Linked DNA regions of Homo sapiens: region 1 is linked to region 2. The links are contacts of gene promoters, found by promoter capture Hi-C in human tissues and cell types (Jung and others, 2019). All regions are on one chromosome and are shown on one strand. Each heading gives the region's core, a stretch centred on a gene start or on the middle of the fragment in contact. The rest is flanking DNA. Distances are from core to core; before and after follow the strand shown.

Evidence for each region. Contacts are between HindIII fragments. The study calls those that stand out against the background at their distance.
Region 1: a contact is called between a fragment that was not itself captured here and the fragment with the promoter of FAM50B in region 2, in 2 of the 25 tissues and cell types used here (bladder and thymus).

What each region holds. Positions count from the first base shown.
Region 1 is chr6:3,805,471-3,812,903 of GRCh38, forward strand. No RefSeq gene overlaps it. Among named protein-coding and RNA genes, the nearest start is that of FAM50B, 40 kb to the right of the region's middle. RefSeq lists enhancers at 4,296-4,796, 4,797-5,297. The HindIII fragment of the contact is 5,320 bases long and covers 1-4,901 here.
Region 2 is chr6:3,843,219-3,850,902 of GRCh38, forward strand. FAM50B (family with sequence similarity 50 member B) reads left to right here and starts at 6,155. Exons shown (of 2, transcript NM_012135.3): 1 at 6,155-6,268; 2 at 6,571-7,684. The coding sequence starts at 6,594. The coding sequence ends at 7,571. It overlaps LOC107986557 (a long non-coding RNA gene), which reads right to left and starts at 6,148. Exons shown (of 3, transcript XR_001743931.2): 1 at 6,098-6,148; 2 at 5,171-5,431; 3 at 1,470-2,874. RefSeq lists a silencer at 5,829-5,948 and an enhancer at 6,219-6,338. The HindIII fragment of the contact is 6,203 bases long and covers 2,324-7,684 here.

The DNA of each region.
Region 1 (7,433 bases), core at 992-3,491, 42 kb before region 2:
AGACAGGGTTTCACCATGTTGGCCATGCTGGTCTCGAACTCCTGACCTCAAGTGATCCACCTGCCTTGACCTCCCAAAGTACTGGGATTACAGGCCTGAGTCACCACACCTGGCCTAAATAATGAATCGTAGTCACTGATTTTTATGAACCACTACAGCAAACAAAAAAACTAACAGTGCTGGACGCAGATGTGTAGAAAAGGTCCAATATCATGTTGTATAATTAGGAAATGCCACTTTATTAGAAAAAATGCCATGTCCCATGAAATCGGGGACTGCATCTCTTTGTTCATGGCAGTATCACCAGCACTTAGAGTGGGGACTGGCACACAGTAAGTGCTCAATGAATACTTTTTGGGTGAATTAGAGTCTCAGGGAGGAATTTTGAGGAAAATCCTTACCTCAGAGGCCTCGCCCCCTACTACTCAAAACGGAAATGACTCCAACTCCCTTTCCGGGATGTCATGGAAGTTGTGTTTACGAGTATGAATTGCTACATGTGCAGATTACAGAGGAGAAGCTTGTGTGTGTGTGAAGAGTACAAAGTATTACTCAGATCACACATAAACATACACATAATTATACAGTGCTCACTTTTGTAAACCTCCTAAGATAATAGTGAAGAGGACACAGGCTAAAAATGGGAAGTCTAAACGGAAGGGCCAGACAAGTGCTCAAAGGAAAATGATCTGTAGAAGTAAGAAGGGCTGTTTGTGAAGCCAGGACCAGGGGTGCAGACAGGAGCCCAGGAGGCTCCACAGCCACCGCTGCAGCCGAGGTCGTCCTCCCGGCCATGCCCTCTGTCTTCCAACTCCAGCCTCGTCTGGAATCCCCCTCCTCTACACCACACTCCTCTGGGAGGTGGTCTCCTTTCTTCCTGCCCAGCACCTTTATGTTCTTTAACTCAAAAGGCAGTGGAAAGAGAAGACAAGGGCCCTAAGAGAGACCTGGGGAACTCGGAAGCCTTTGACTTTGTTCTCAGTAATTCTTAGTTGGCCTTGGGTTAATCTGTTGGCAACAAAGTCCAACGCAGCAGTGATAAAGAACTTTCCCACTGTGTCAAGCAAGGCCTTTGAAAAAGCAGGGCTGGGACAATCCCTGGGAAGGCACACAGGGGACAGCCCTGCGTCTCACAGCCTGTCCAGTGGCCCCCACTTGCTCACGATGGCCCGTGCCAGGTCTCAGGACACCCACCCCCTTCCATTCTGTCATGTCTAAAGTGTCTGACCCAAAGACTAACCTCCCCTGGAGTTCAGGAAGACTCCACTCTACAGACGCAGCTGACCAACGTTCCAGGCAGGAGCAGCCAGTTCAATCTCGTGTCCCCTGGGCTGCCGTCTCTGCCTCAGCGGCTACCTTGGAATCTCACCCTCCCAAGGGAGTCCCACCCCACTGGGGCTTCTGAGCCCCCCTTAGACTCAGCAGGGCTCTAAAAGCAGGGGTTGAAGCATATTAGAGTTTTGCGACAAGTAATAATAACAATAAATGTAAACCTAATTATGGGCCTACCACTGTTCTAAGAACTTTATACGTGGCCGGGTGCGGTAGCTCACGCCTGTAATCCCAGCACTTTGGGAGGCTGAGGTGGGCGGATCACCTGAGGTCAGGATTTTGAGACCAGTCTGGCTAACATGCTGAAACCCCATCTCCACTAAAAATGCAAAAATTAGCTGGGCATGGTGGCAGTTGCCTGTAATCCCAGCTATTCAGGAGGCTGAGGCAGGAGAATTGCTTGAACCCAGGAGACAGAAATTGCAGTGGGCTGACATCTCGCCACTGTACTCCAGCCTGGGTGACAGAGCGAGACTCCATTTCAAAAAAAGAAAAGAGAAGAACTTTACACACATAAATCCATGTCATCCTCCCAATAACCCTGAGACAGGCATCTATATCAGCGTCCCCACTTTTCAGATGAGGAAACTGAGGCAGATGTCAAAGCGCTACTTGACACAGCTAGCAATTAAATAGTAAAAAGATAGTAGTGAAAAGATAATTAGTAAAAAGATTAAATACATTTTTGTGGGTTTGTTTGAAAAGTTAATCTTCCATTTATGATACTGTTTCTACAGAAAATGCTTTTGAATTTCAAACAATTACTTCCTAAAAAACTTTGAACCAAAGTCAAGCCTAGGCCTTCATACCCATATTTTAATAGCGGTGTTTTGGGCTTCATAGTACCTTGGCAAGAAGAGCCTTCCTTCTGCCCCCCAACTCCTACCACACAGCCGCCACCTCCTCCCACACCTCCTCCCCTGTGTCTCCCCCACCCCACAGCCTGGACACACTTCCATTAGAAAGTACTTGAACTTTTTTTTTTTTTTAGACAGAGTCTTGCTTTGTCACCCAGGCTGGAGTGCAGCAGTGCAATCTCGGCTCACTGCAACCTCTGCCTCCTGGGTTCAACCAATTCTCCTGCCTCAGCCTCCTAAGTAGCTGGGACTACAGGCGCACACCACCACGACCAGCTAATTTTTGCATTTTTTAGTAGAGACGGTGTTTCACCATGTTGGCCAGGCTGGCCTCAAACTCCTGACCTCAGGTGATCCACCCACCTCGGCCTCCCAAAGTGCTGGGATTACAGGGGTGAGCCATCACTCATGCAGATACATCTTTGCAAGAACAGATCTTAATGGAAGAAATTACCATAAAATTATCCTAAAGTTTGCCAAAATGATGAAGTAAGAATTACTCAATTTTTTTACAATAATAAGAAAGTCTGGAAGCCGCAGCATCTCCTTAGGAGTTATAAGTAGAATAAATGAAAGCTTCAAGAGGGAAGCCAATGGCAGGATCCCAGGTGGGTGGGGAGGGGGAGGCGGATGAAAGCTGATTACAAACATGTCCAGTAGCAAGTGGGAGTGGGCAGCCTGAGCCAGGAATTCCCAAAAGGTTGAGGGAGTTGAACAGAAATGGGTGAAGGGTCAGAACCCAGTCGCTGGGTCAGATTATAGTAATGTCTTCCTGTGTTAGAAAGAGTGATTCATTATTTTCAAAGGAATGGATAGAAGAGGCCATCCTTCCACACATCTGGGACCCAGTCTTCTTTATGGTAAAGAAAGGTTGGACATCACTCTTTGAGCCCTTTCAGCTTAGAGTCTGTGAGTCGGAAGAGTTTGTCCATGAGCAGAGACACTAGAACCAAGCCACATACAAACACGTTTTCATAGTGTTTGGAGAATGTATTGCTTGCATATTATGGCTTCAAAGTCAAAATACAACTCCAGAGGACAAACAATTTAGTAGATTCATGAAAAAGCAAGTGAACCTGCTGTAGGATTGGCAATGCATTGAGGAGGCCAGCCTAGTGGGCTCTGGCAGGAGGAAGAGCTCAGCAGACAGGGCAGGGGGCAGTGTCTGTTCAGCATGATGCTATCTGGGGCTGACCAGAATGGCTTCATGAGTGTGTCTGGGTGTGCACATGTGTGTGTGAGTACGTGAGTGTGCGTGCACACGTGCTTGCTGCAGTTACTCACTACAGTGCTTGTTTTTGCCAAGTTCTCAGCTCCCGAGCTGGTGCCTGTGAAGCTGGTGCGGTCTGCAGATGAGTTTTCTGTTTGGGCTCCTGGAGGCTCCAGCTGTGCCAAGCTAGGGTATGGCCACTGGTGACTAAGCAGAGAAGCATGTGTCCAGCTGGGTGTGCCTCTCTGGACAGCTGCAGAGAGAAATAATAGGCTTCTTTGCCTGCAGGACAAGCCCCTTGTCAGTCTGCAAAGAAGTGGCTGGTTCCTCAGCCAGCCACAGGGAGACCCTGAGGTGTAGAGAAGAACCTCTCCAACCCTGGGGAGCTAAGGGAATGTTCTGTAGCGTCACAGGGGAGATTATTCAGGCTACCCAAGCTGTACAGCATGGCTGGAGGGAACATACAGACATCCCTCAGCATCCCAGGGGGATTGGTTCCAGGACTCCGTGCAGATACAAAACTATGGGTGTTCAAGATGCTTATGAAATCACAGAGTCTTTACATACATCCTATGCACATCCTCCTATATACTTTATTTATTTAATTAATTTATTTATGTATTATTTTTATTTTTTAGAGAAGGATTTCACTCTATCCCCTGGGCTGGAGTACAGTGGTGTGATCATAGCTCACAGTAGCCCCAATCTCCTGAGCTCAGGCAATCCTTCCCCCTCTGCCTTCTGAGTAGCTGTGACTACAGGCCCACAGCAACATGCTTGCCTAATTTGTGTACTTTTTGTGGAGATGGGATCTTGCTATGTTGCCCAGGCTGTTCTCGAACTCCTGGCCTCAAGTGATCCTCCTGCCTTGGCCTCCCACAGTGCTCTCCTGTATACTTTAAATCATCTCTACAGTACTTCTAATACTTAAGACAACACAAATGCTGTGTAAATAATTGTTATACTGTGTTTTTTTGTTTGTATTAATTTTATTGTATTGTTATTTTAATTTTTTTCCCAAATATTTTTTATGCGTGGTCAGTTAAATCTGAGGATGTGGAACCTGCAGATTTAGAGGATGGACTCGACCTGTGTGGTCATCACCTGGACTGTCCAGCCTGCTTCAGTGCATTGCTACATGCCCATTCCCAAAACTGATACTGGAGCACTCCACCAGGCCACCTAGTCAAGGTTACAGCTTGACTCCCTGTGGCCAGGAGTCCCCAACTACACATAGCCATGGGGCAGGGGAGAGAAAAGCAGGCCTTCTCGGCGACACTGCCCACCCACCATGTTCCTCGGCCCGCCGCAGCCGCAGCTATCCTTAACCCCTCCTTGCAAGCTCTGTGTTTATAGTCTTGATCTCAGCCTAGGGGACTTCATTCAAAGCCCAGGCCCTTGGGCACGGTGGCTCACGTCTGTAATCCCAGCACTTTGGGAGGCCAAGGCAGGCAGATTACCTGAGGTCAGGAGTTCAAGATGAGCCTGGCCAACATGGCAAAACCCCGTCTCTACTAAAATACAAAAAATAGCCAGGTGTGGTGGCACATGCCTGTAATCCCAGCTACCCGGGAGGCTGAGGCAGGAGAATTGCTTGAACCTGGGAGGCAGAGGCAGCAACGGGCTGAGATTGCGCTACTGCACTACAGCCTGGGAGACAGAGTGAGACTCCGTCTCAAACAAACAAACAACAACAACAACAAAAACAGGCCCTGAGTTTAGTAGCTGAATCTTGCCGTATTTCTTACACCTAAGTTCTCAGCCCTATTAACTGAGCTCCCAGGAAGTTTGCTCCCATCACGGTTCCCAGGATGGACACCTTGTTCCCCAATGGCTTGACCCATTCTCCCTCAGCCTTCCCGGGATCTGCGTGGGGTCTCCTTTGCCACTGCTGGGCTTTCCTGTGTCACTTGCTGCCCCTGGCGCCTCTGCCTCCATCCCAAGTCATAGCTTTCTCTGTGGCCTGCCCTCCATGGTGTGAACACTGCCCACTCACAGTCCCTGGGTGTTCTGCGTCCTGCTCCAGCTCAACTTTTCCGCTGCCCTCTTTTGCCATGCTCTGGGGCAACACCAGACTTGTCACCGGTTGCTATGGTCTGAACGTGTCCCTTTAAATTCCCGTGTTGGAAACTTAATCCCCAGTGCAGCAATGTGGGAAGCTACAGCCTTTTGGGAGGTGGTTGTGTCACAAGGGCTCCACACTCATGGATGGATTAATGTAGCTCTAAAAAGGGCTTGTGGGAGTGGGTTCACTCTCTCTTCCCCTTTCACCTTCTCCCATGTGAGGACACACAAGAAGGCTCTCACCAGATGTCACCGCCTTGATTTGGGACTTCCTAGCCTCCAGGAGAATGAAGAAGTAATGTTCTGTTTTTCATAAATTACCCAGTCTCAGGTATTCTGTTTTAGAGCACAAAACAGACACTGGCATTCTTCATGCTACCGTGCCCTCCATGTGGCTCCTAGCCAAGGCTGTCCACAATGCAGCCTTGTGATGCCTTGGGATGCAGGGTCACCCTGCCATCACTATGTGTGCCAGCCCTCCAGCTGGCTACTTTCTGGGTTCCTCCATGGGTCAGGCAGGAACTTCAGCACATCCTGCATATGATGCAGGAGCTGCAGGACGCTTGGTGGGGTGCTCCACTCTGGCCCTCCCTTCTACCCCACCATGCTGCCTCACCCTACTTACTGCAACTGTGGGCAGTCAGCCAGTGTTTTAGCGCATTGGGCTGCTATAACAAATTACCATGGACTGGGTGGCTTATAAACAACAAAAAGTGATTTCTCACTGTGCTGGAGGCTGGGAAGCCCAAGGTCAAGGTGCTAGCAGATTCTCAGGGTTCTGGTGGTCGGAAATCTGAGATCAGGGCTGCCAGCATTGGGTTCTGGCGAGGGCCCTCTCTGTGGCTTGTAAGTGGCCATATCCTTGCTGTGCCCCCACATATTGGCGGACTGGGAAGCAGGGAGAGAGCGAGCAAACTCTCCAGTATCCATTGTTATAAGAGCACTAAATCCCATCATGGGAACCCTGCCTGCATGCCTCATCTAAACCTGACTGTCTCTCAAAGGCCCCGTCTCCAAACACCATCGCACTGGGGGTTAGGGCTTCAATGTGTGAATTTTAGGGGGATACATGCAGTTCATAACGAACGTCTACCTTGCAGGGCTGTTGTGAGGATTAAAGAGATAGTGCCTTGGCCGGATGCAGTGGCTCACGCCTGTAATCCCAGCACTTCGGGAGGCTGCAGGCGGATCACTTGAGGTCAGGAGTTTGAGACAACCTGGCCAACATGGTGAAACCCTGTCTCTACCAAAAATATAAAAAAATTAGCCGAGTGTGGTGGTGCACGCCTATAATCCAAACTACTCGGGAGGCTGAGGCAGGAGAATCACTTGAACCTGGGAGGTGGAGGTTGCAGTGAGCTGAGATTGTGCCACTGCACTCCAGCCTGGTGATAGAGCGAGACCCTGTCTCCAAAAAAAAAAAAAAAGAGAGAGATAGTGCCTCTCCTATAGTGAGCATTGCCTTCCTCCAGCCATCAGTAAGTGAATAGAGCACATAGAATTTAGCTCCATTGGACTCAAGTAGCCATCAATAGGGGACTAGATAAACAAGCACGTTAAACTAGCTAAATAAGCTTAATGGACATCATATGACAGAAAAAGGAGTAAAGAATTCCAATGGTCCAATATGGAGCCATCTTCAATATACATCTGTAAGCTAGCAAGAAAACATACAGAATGCTGCACATAGTAAGCCACTTTTGTGTACAAAAGGGTGGGAAACAAGAACATGTGTTTGTATTTGCTTGTGCTTCAATAAAGGGAAATGTAAGAAACTCATAGAAGTCATTACCTGTAAGAGAACAGCAGTGAGGAAGAAACGGGTAAGAGCAATTCTCAAGTTACAGCTTTTAGAACATCTGGGTTTTTAATCACGTGATATATTTCTATATAAAACATTAAATTACAACAGATGAATAAGTAAAAGGTTTGCTGCATTCCAACATCCACTGTGTGTAGGGGCAGGGCCT
Region 2 (7,684 bases), core at 4,905-7,404:
GATTAGTCACAACATAGCAATGTAAGAATTATTAGAAAATAAGGAGGTAAACACCAGAAGAAGCAACTGAAAGGACTGGAGGTGGTTGCCTCCAGGGAAGAGAAAAATAGACAGGAAACTGCTTTTTTGTTTGTGAAAATAACCCTTTCAGGATTACTTTTCTTTTTAAACCAAGAATATAAAACCATGTTCCATTCTTTTAAACCGTTTTATCAAACATGTATTACTTTGATACAAATGAAAGAAAAAAATGAGGTCTTACAGCTCAGAGACATTTATGGTGCAGCATTTATTTTGAAATTGTGACATCTCTTAGGTTTCATTTCTCTCTCACGTGGTGTGGATTTTTTCCCCCAGGGAACACATATAGAAGTCATAGGTTTCTTGTTCAAGCTTTTCCCTTCTAGTATATTTTGTACTTCCTTGTCTCTGAACATGTGAGGGTTCTTCCCCTTACCCCTACCTGATTGCATGCCAAAATATTGGCTTTCCACCAAGCAAAGGTTGGAAGACATTTTTAAACCCTTTATTCGAAAGCGTGCAATAATATTATCTAGATATCCTTTGAAGGACTTCTGGTCTGGTGGCGGAATTCTGAATTCATACACTAGTTCTTTTTTGGCACCTGGTTGATGTGAGGTGTTGTGGCTTTGCTTTGACAACTGGTTCAGGATACTGTGGTGGTGTTGGAGGGATCATTGAGTGGAGATGCTATCGGGGCACGCCCTACACCCAGGCCAGGCCCACCATCAGCTGTTTCATTTCAAGGCTGACTCTGGAGAGGACAGTATATCTGCCACTTGTAGGATAATCCGTTTAAAATAGAATTCAGACTGGTGGAAAGCAACATGAAAACCGACCATGACAAAAGGTGTTATTTGCGGGGGTCTGTTATTGTTGCTTGTATTGAAAACTAAGTTCTTTTTCTCTTGTTAAAATAGTTTAAGTTTTAGTTTTGTGAGATTTTTAAAACACTGATGCTGTTTGCATATTTTACTTTGTGACTAAGCCTGGAGGAGGGCACATTTTTTTCTAAATTAGTTTGTGTATTTAATCGGCATTTCTGAGTCACTAGAACAGAATGCTGCTCCCTCTCCTCTGTTGTATTATTGCTATTGATACTTTTATTTATTTATTTATTTTTTAACAATAGAATGTACCACATTTATTTAAATCAATGACTATGATGATTATATAAAAACAAGAATAATACCGGGCGAGGTGGCTCACGCCTGTAATCCCAGCACTTTGGGAGGCCGAGGAGGGCAGATCACCTGAGGTCAGGAGTTTGAGACCAGCCTGACCAACATGGCAAAACCCCGTCTCTACTAAAAATACAAAAATTAGCCGGGCGTGGTGGTGGGCGCCTGTAATCCCAACTACTCGGGAGGCTGAGGCAGGAGAATCACTTGAACCCAGCCGGCGGAGGTTGCAGTGGGCCGAGATCGCACCATTGCACTACTCCAGCCTGGAAGACAGAGCCAGACTCCGTCTCAAAAACAAAAACAGAAAAAAAAACTTAAATGGAAAAAAAGTCATCAAATGGGATGCAAAGTTTGATTAAAATTGCTAAATATATACAGATCTATGTGCACATAAAATATTGGAAGGGAACTTGCAAACATTAATAGTTATGTTACTTATGTGTTCATGTTGAGTGAACTTTTTATTTATTTACATTTCTTTTCAAACTTTTCTGTAATATGCCTATTTCCTCCTTTATGACAAAACCTATTGGAAAAACAAACCATAATGTCTCAATCAGGGAAGAATAACTAGAACAATCATTCTTTTTTGTTCTATTTATTCTTCTTTCTTAAAGTTTCACCATTTGCGTGGGCTCGGGTCCTCAGCCTCATTTTGCTGATAAAATTTAAGAGCTTAAAGCAGTAGCTTTTAGTTTTGTGGGTATTTTCGCTGAGAATTAAGGCTGAAAGAGGAAGTTATCATCTTGGAACTTAGGGGAAAATTCTACAGAACAGTATATCAGACTTTTAGGATAAATCTCCTTCTTTCTAGTTGTTTTTCTTGTTAAACTTTTCTGAGAATTTGAGGCTCAACCTTTTAATTCTGGGAGCTGGCTATAGTATTTGGAGGCCGTGACTGAGTTCAGGAGGTGGATGCTGGATAATGGGAGGGTGGATGATAAGGTTTAGGGATGATATTGACATTCAAGTTCTGATTCGATTAGAGAAAGAGTGAATATAGTATTTGTGGCCAAACGATAGTCGATTGAATTAAAGTTTAGTTGGTTGGATCATTTAACTGAAAAAAAGAGGTGGAGAGGCTATCTTATTTATGTTAAGTGTAATAAAGGTAATTATATGGGAAACCTGAGAGAGGAGACTATTGGTAATTTTGTCCATCTGTGGGTGGTGATGGTGATGGTGGGTGCTCCAGGCTTCCTCTTGGAGATGACATTTGTGCTGATCTTCAGGGATAGCACAGCGAAGGGCAGGACTTTCTAGAAAGAGTACGTCCAGAGGTAACAGTTATGAAAGGGCAACTTTTTTTTTAGATGAAGTCTTTCTGGGTCACCAGGCTGGAGTGCAGTGGTGCGATCTTGGCTCACTGCAACCTCCATCTCCTGGGTTGAAGCAATTCTTCTGCCTCAGCCTCCCGAGCAGCTGGGACTACAAGGCATGCACCACCACACCCAGCTAATTTTTTTTATTTTTATTTTTATTAGAGACGGGGTTTCACCATGTTGGCCAGGATGGTCTCGATCTCTTGACCTCGTGATCCACCCGCCTCGGCCTCCCAAAGTGCTGGGATTACAGGTGTGAGCCACTGCGCCTGGCCTGAAAGGGCATCTTCTATTCAGGCGCAGTGAAAAAGCTGGGTGAATGCTGCAGGGGTCCACCTATTAGAGACCTTAGAGGACAAACAAAGAGATTCTGATGTGGCTGTTACAAGGGAAGTTGGAGTTTTTCAAGTAGGAGAGTAATGTTATCAGATTCATTTTTTATGAAGATCTCTGAGGATATTGTATAGAAGTTAGACAAGAACAAGAATACAGGCATACCTCGGAGATACTGTGGGTTCAGTTCCAGACCACCACAAAGACAGTCACACAAATTTTTAAATTTTCTAGTGCATATAAAAGTTATGTTTATACTATACTATAGTCTAGTAAGTGTGCAGTAGCATTTTGTCTAAGAAAATAATGTGCATAATTTCATTAAAAATACTTAATTGCTAAATAATGCTAATGATCCTCTGAGCATTCAGTGAGCTGTGCTCTATTTGCTGGTGGAGGGTCTTGCCTCAGTGTTGATGGTTGCTGACTGATCAGGGTGGTGGTTGCCAAAGGCTGGGCCTGTGGCAGTTTCTTAAATCAATATTGAGTTTGTCACATTGATTGATTCTACCTTTCACGAAAGATTTCTTTGTAACATGTAATGCTGTTTGAATCAACTTCTTCCAAACTTCTGTTAATGTTGATATTTTACCTCCTCCCAAAAACTGTGAATGTCCTTCATGGCACCTACAGTGGTGAATGCCTTCCAGAAAAATTTCAATTTACTTTGCCCAGATCCATCAGAGAAATCATTACATACAGCAGCTATAACCTTTGGAAATGTATTTCTTAAATAATAAGACTTAAAAGTCAAAATTACTCCTTGATCTATGGGTTGCAGAATGGATGTTGTGTTAGCAAGCATGAAATCAACTTTAATCTCCTTGAGCATCTCCATCAAGCTCTTAGGTGACCAAGTGCATTGTTAATGAGTAATAATATCTTGAAAGGAATAATCAGAGCAGTAAGTCTCAACACTGGGCTTAAAAATATTCAGTAAACCATGCTGTAAACAGATGTGCTGTCCTCCAGGTTTTGTTGTTCCATTTACAGAGCACAGGCACAGTAGATTTAGCATAATTTTTAAGGGCACTAAGATTTTCAGAATGGTAAGTGAGCATTGGCTTCAACTGAAAGTCTCCAGCTACACTAGCCCCTAGCAAGAGAGTCAACCTGTCCTTTGAAGCCATGAAGCCAGGCATTGACTTCTCCTCTCTAGATATAAAAGTCCTAAATGGCATCTTCTTCCAATAGAAGGCTATTTTGTCTACATTGAAAATGTATTGTTTAGGGTAGCCTCCGTCATCAGTGCTCTTAGCTAGATCTTCTGGATAACCTGCTGCAGCTTCTCCATCACACTTGCTGCTTCACCTTGCACTTTATGTTATAGAGGTGACTTCCTTCCTCAGCCTCATGAACCAACCTCTGCTACCTTCAGACTTTTCTTCTGAAGCTTCCTCACCTCTCTCAGCTTCACAGAATTGAAGAGACTTAGGGCCTTGCCCTGGATTAGGCTTTGGTTTAAGGGAATGTCGTGGCTGGTTTGATCTTCTATCCAGACCACTAGAACTTTCTCCATATAAGCAATAAGGCTGTTTTGCTTTCTTATCATTCATATGTTTACCAGGAAAGCGCTTTCAGTTTCATTCAAGATTTTTTTCCTTTGCATTCACAACTTAGCTAACTGTTTGGCAAAAGAGGCCTAGCTTTTGGCCTATCCTGGCTTTTGACATACTTTCCTCACTGAGCTGAATCATTTCTAGCCTTTGATTTAAAGTGAGAGACGTGTGACACTTCTTTTCACTTGAACACTTAGAGGCCATTGTAGGGTTATTAATTGGCCTAATTTCAATATTGCTGTGTCTCAGGCACTAGGGAAGCCTAGGGACAGGAAGAGAGATGAAGGAACAGCCAGTCAGTGGAGCAGTCAGAACATACATAACATTTATCAGTTAAATCAATAAACGTCTTTGTCTTCTACTGCACACTTCGGAGTGCCCCCAAACAATTACAATAACCTCACAGAACGATGATCACAGATCACCATAGCAGATATCACAATGAAAAAGTCTGAAATATTGCAAGAATTACCAAAATGTGACACAGGAACACGAAGTGAGCACATGCTGCTGGAAAAATGGAGCCAGTAGGCGCTTGACGCTGTGTTGCCACAAATCTTCAATTTGTAAAAACAAAAACAAAACACACAGTATCCCAGAGCTCAATAAAATAAGATATTCTTGTATTCTGGTGATGGGGCAACAATGAGAAGGCTTTAGATTAAAAAAAATGCTAATTTCCTAGATTAAGGCAAGTGGTGGGGAATGGGAGAAAAAGGAAAGTGTGAAAGGCTCTTCTGTAATTGATTACCTGTGGAGGAACGTCATTCCAGGAAAAGGCCTAGGTTTCTGGCTTGGACAATTTGATGAGGGCTCACACCGTGCTGTTCTCCTCTGGATATGTGGGTGCCATATGTAATTATCATATGATTCACGCTTCTTGGTAAGGTTATGCTCACAGGCATTGTTGCTCTTAGGCGGGAGGAGGCTGAACCGCAGTATGTATTTCACAACCAGCTTTTCCAAACTAGGTCCCAGGAAGCACTGGTTTCGGCGAGTGTTACCAGATCTCCTGCAGGGGAGAAACGGTCACGAAACATGAACTGGTCTGCCCTGCTCTTGGAGAGTTACAGTGGAAACTGGCATGTTAGAGGCTCACAGTAAAGACACTGCTACACTTTAACTCAGTGTCCCATGGTTATTAGAGCTTAGAACCCGGGGGAAACTGCTGTATAGAAGAGGTCAAACAAGCTGAGTGCAGGTTTTGTCACGAAACTGGGGGGCGAGTAGGGTTCTATTATCAAAGAATGGTTGTGTTGGGGCCATAAGAAAGAATTACAGGCAGTGGTGCGCAGGTAATGTTCACGAGACGCCACAGCGGGGTAGCATCAGAGGCGGGAGGAGGAGGGTTGGAGAGCAGGGCCGTGTTGCAAGGCTCTCTGGGTGGCCACAGCAGCTTGCGCTGCGCCCACATTGCTTCTGCGTGTTTACAGTTGGGCACGAGAAGGCTCAGCACGCACGCACAGCAGGTGGGGGCCCGCCCTGCCCACAGCGTGAAAACAGGAGCCCCGGCCAGCCACGGCTGGGCAGGGCCAGAAGCGCCTCCTCCAGGATCCTCCCCGCGCTGGCCCGCCCCACAGGAGCACCGCCCCTACCAGGAGCCCGGAGCTCTTCCCAGGGCCCGCCTCCCCGCCAGGGGGCGATCCACCTCCACTTCCTGTTTCCGCAGCCGCCCTACCAGGAGCCTGGCACTCTCCTCAGGGCCCGCCTCCCCGCCAGGGGGCGCACCGCCTCCACTTCCTGTGTCCACGGCTGTCGCGAGAGCCCGGGGCGAGTGGGCCTCTGCTCGTGGGTGGTTCTCGTGGAGGTCAGCTCCCGCGTGTCTCCGCTCGACAGGGTGCTTGGGCAGGTAAGGGTCCGCTCAGTAGCCCAACCCTCTCTGTATGCAGCTCCCCAAATTCAGCGCTGCGCTCAGGCATGGCAGCCACCCGTTACGTGGGGCCGTTCGCATTTGCATTTATTGAGGTCAAATAAAATGCTGGAAATTGGTGCCTGGTGACACTGTCAGGTTGGTGGTTACCCTAGCAGGTCGGCCCAGCCCCTGAACGCTTCCATCACTGCCGAAAGCCCTGTGAGGAGGCGCAGAGCTGAGCATTCCCCGCCGTTGCGTGGGCCCCCCTCTACCTGCCGCGTTTTTCCTCTTTGCTGCAGAGCCCATCGGGTAGGCGCGGGCCATGGCGCAGTACAAGGGCACCATGCGCGAGGCAGGCCGTGCCATGCACCTCCTCAAGAAGCGCGAAAGGCAGCGGGAGCAGATGGAGGTGCTGAAGCAGCGCATCGCCGAGGAGACCATCCTCAAGTCGCAGGTGGACAAGAGGTTCTCGGCGCATTACGACGCCGTGGAGGCCGAGCTGAAGTCCAGCACGGTGGGCCTGGTGACCCTGAACGACATGAAGGCCCGGCAGGAGGCCCTGGTCAGGGAGCGCGAGCGGCAGCTGGCCAAGCGCCAGCACCTGGAGGAGCAGCGGCTGCAGCAGGAGCGGCAGCGGGAGCAGGAGCAGCGGCGCGAGCGCAAGCGTAAGATCTCCTGCCTGTCCTTTGCACTAGACGACCTCGATGACCAGGCCGACGCGGCCGAGGCCAGGCGCGCCGGAAACCTGGGCAAGAACCCCGACGTGGACACCAGCTTCCTGCCAGACCGCGACCGCGAGGAGGAGGAGAACCGGCTCCGAGAGGAGCTGCGCCAAGAGTGGGAGGCGCAGCGCGAGAAAGTGAAGGACGAGGAGATGGAGGTCACCTTCAGCTACTGGGACGGCTCGGGCCACCGGCGCACGGTGCGGGTGCGCAAGGGCAACACGGTGCAGCAGTTCCTGAAGAAGGCGCTGCAGGGGCTGCGCAAGGACTTCCTGGAGCTGCGCTCCGCCGGCGTGGAGCAGCTCATGTTCATCAAGGAGGACCTCATCCTGCCGCACTACCACACCTTCTACGACTTCATCATCGCCAGGGCGAGGGGCAAGAGCGGGCCGCTCTTCAGCTTCGATGTGCACGATGACGTGCGCCTGCTCAGCGACGCCACCATGGAGAAGGACGAGTCGCACGCGGGCAAGGTGGTGCTGCGCAGCTGGTACGAGAAGAACAAGCACATCTTCCCCGCCAGCCGCTGGGAGGCCTATGACCCCGAGAAGAAGTGGGACAAGTACACCATCCGCTAACACCCGCCTGCCAGAGCGGAAACCGGGGGTGGGGGGAGACACTCATTTCTAGGCCCCATCACCAGTCACTTGATTTCGTGACCTTGATTTCTTCCCCCAAATTTAATAAAGAC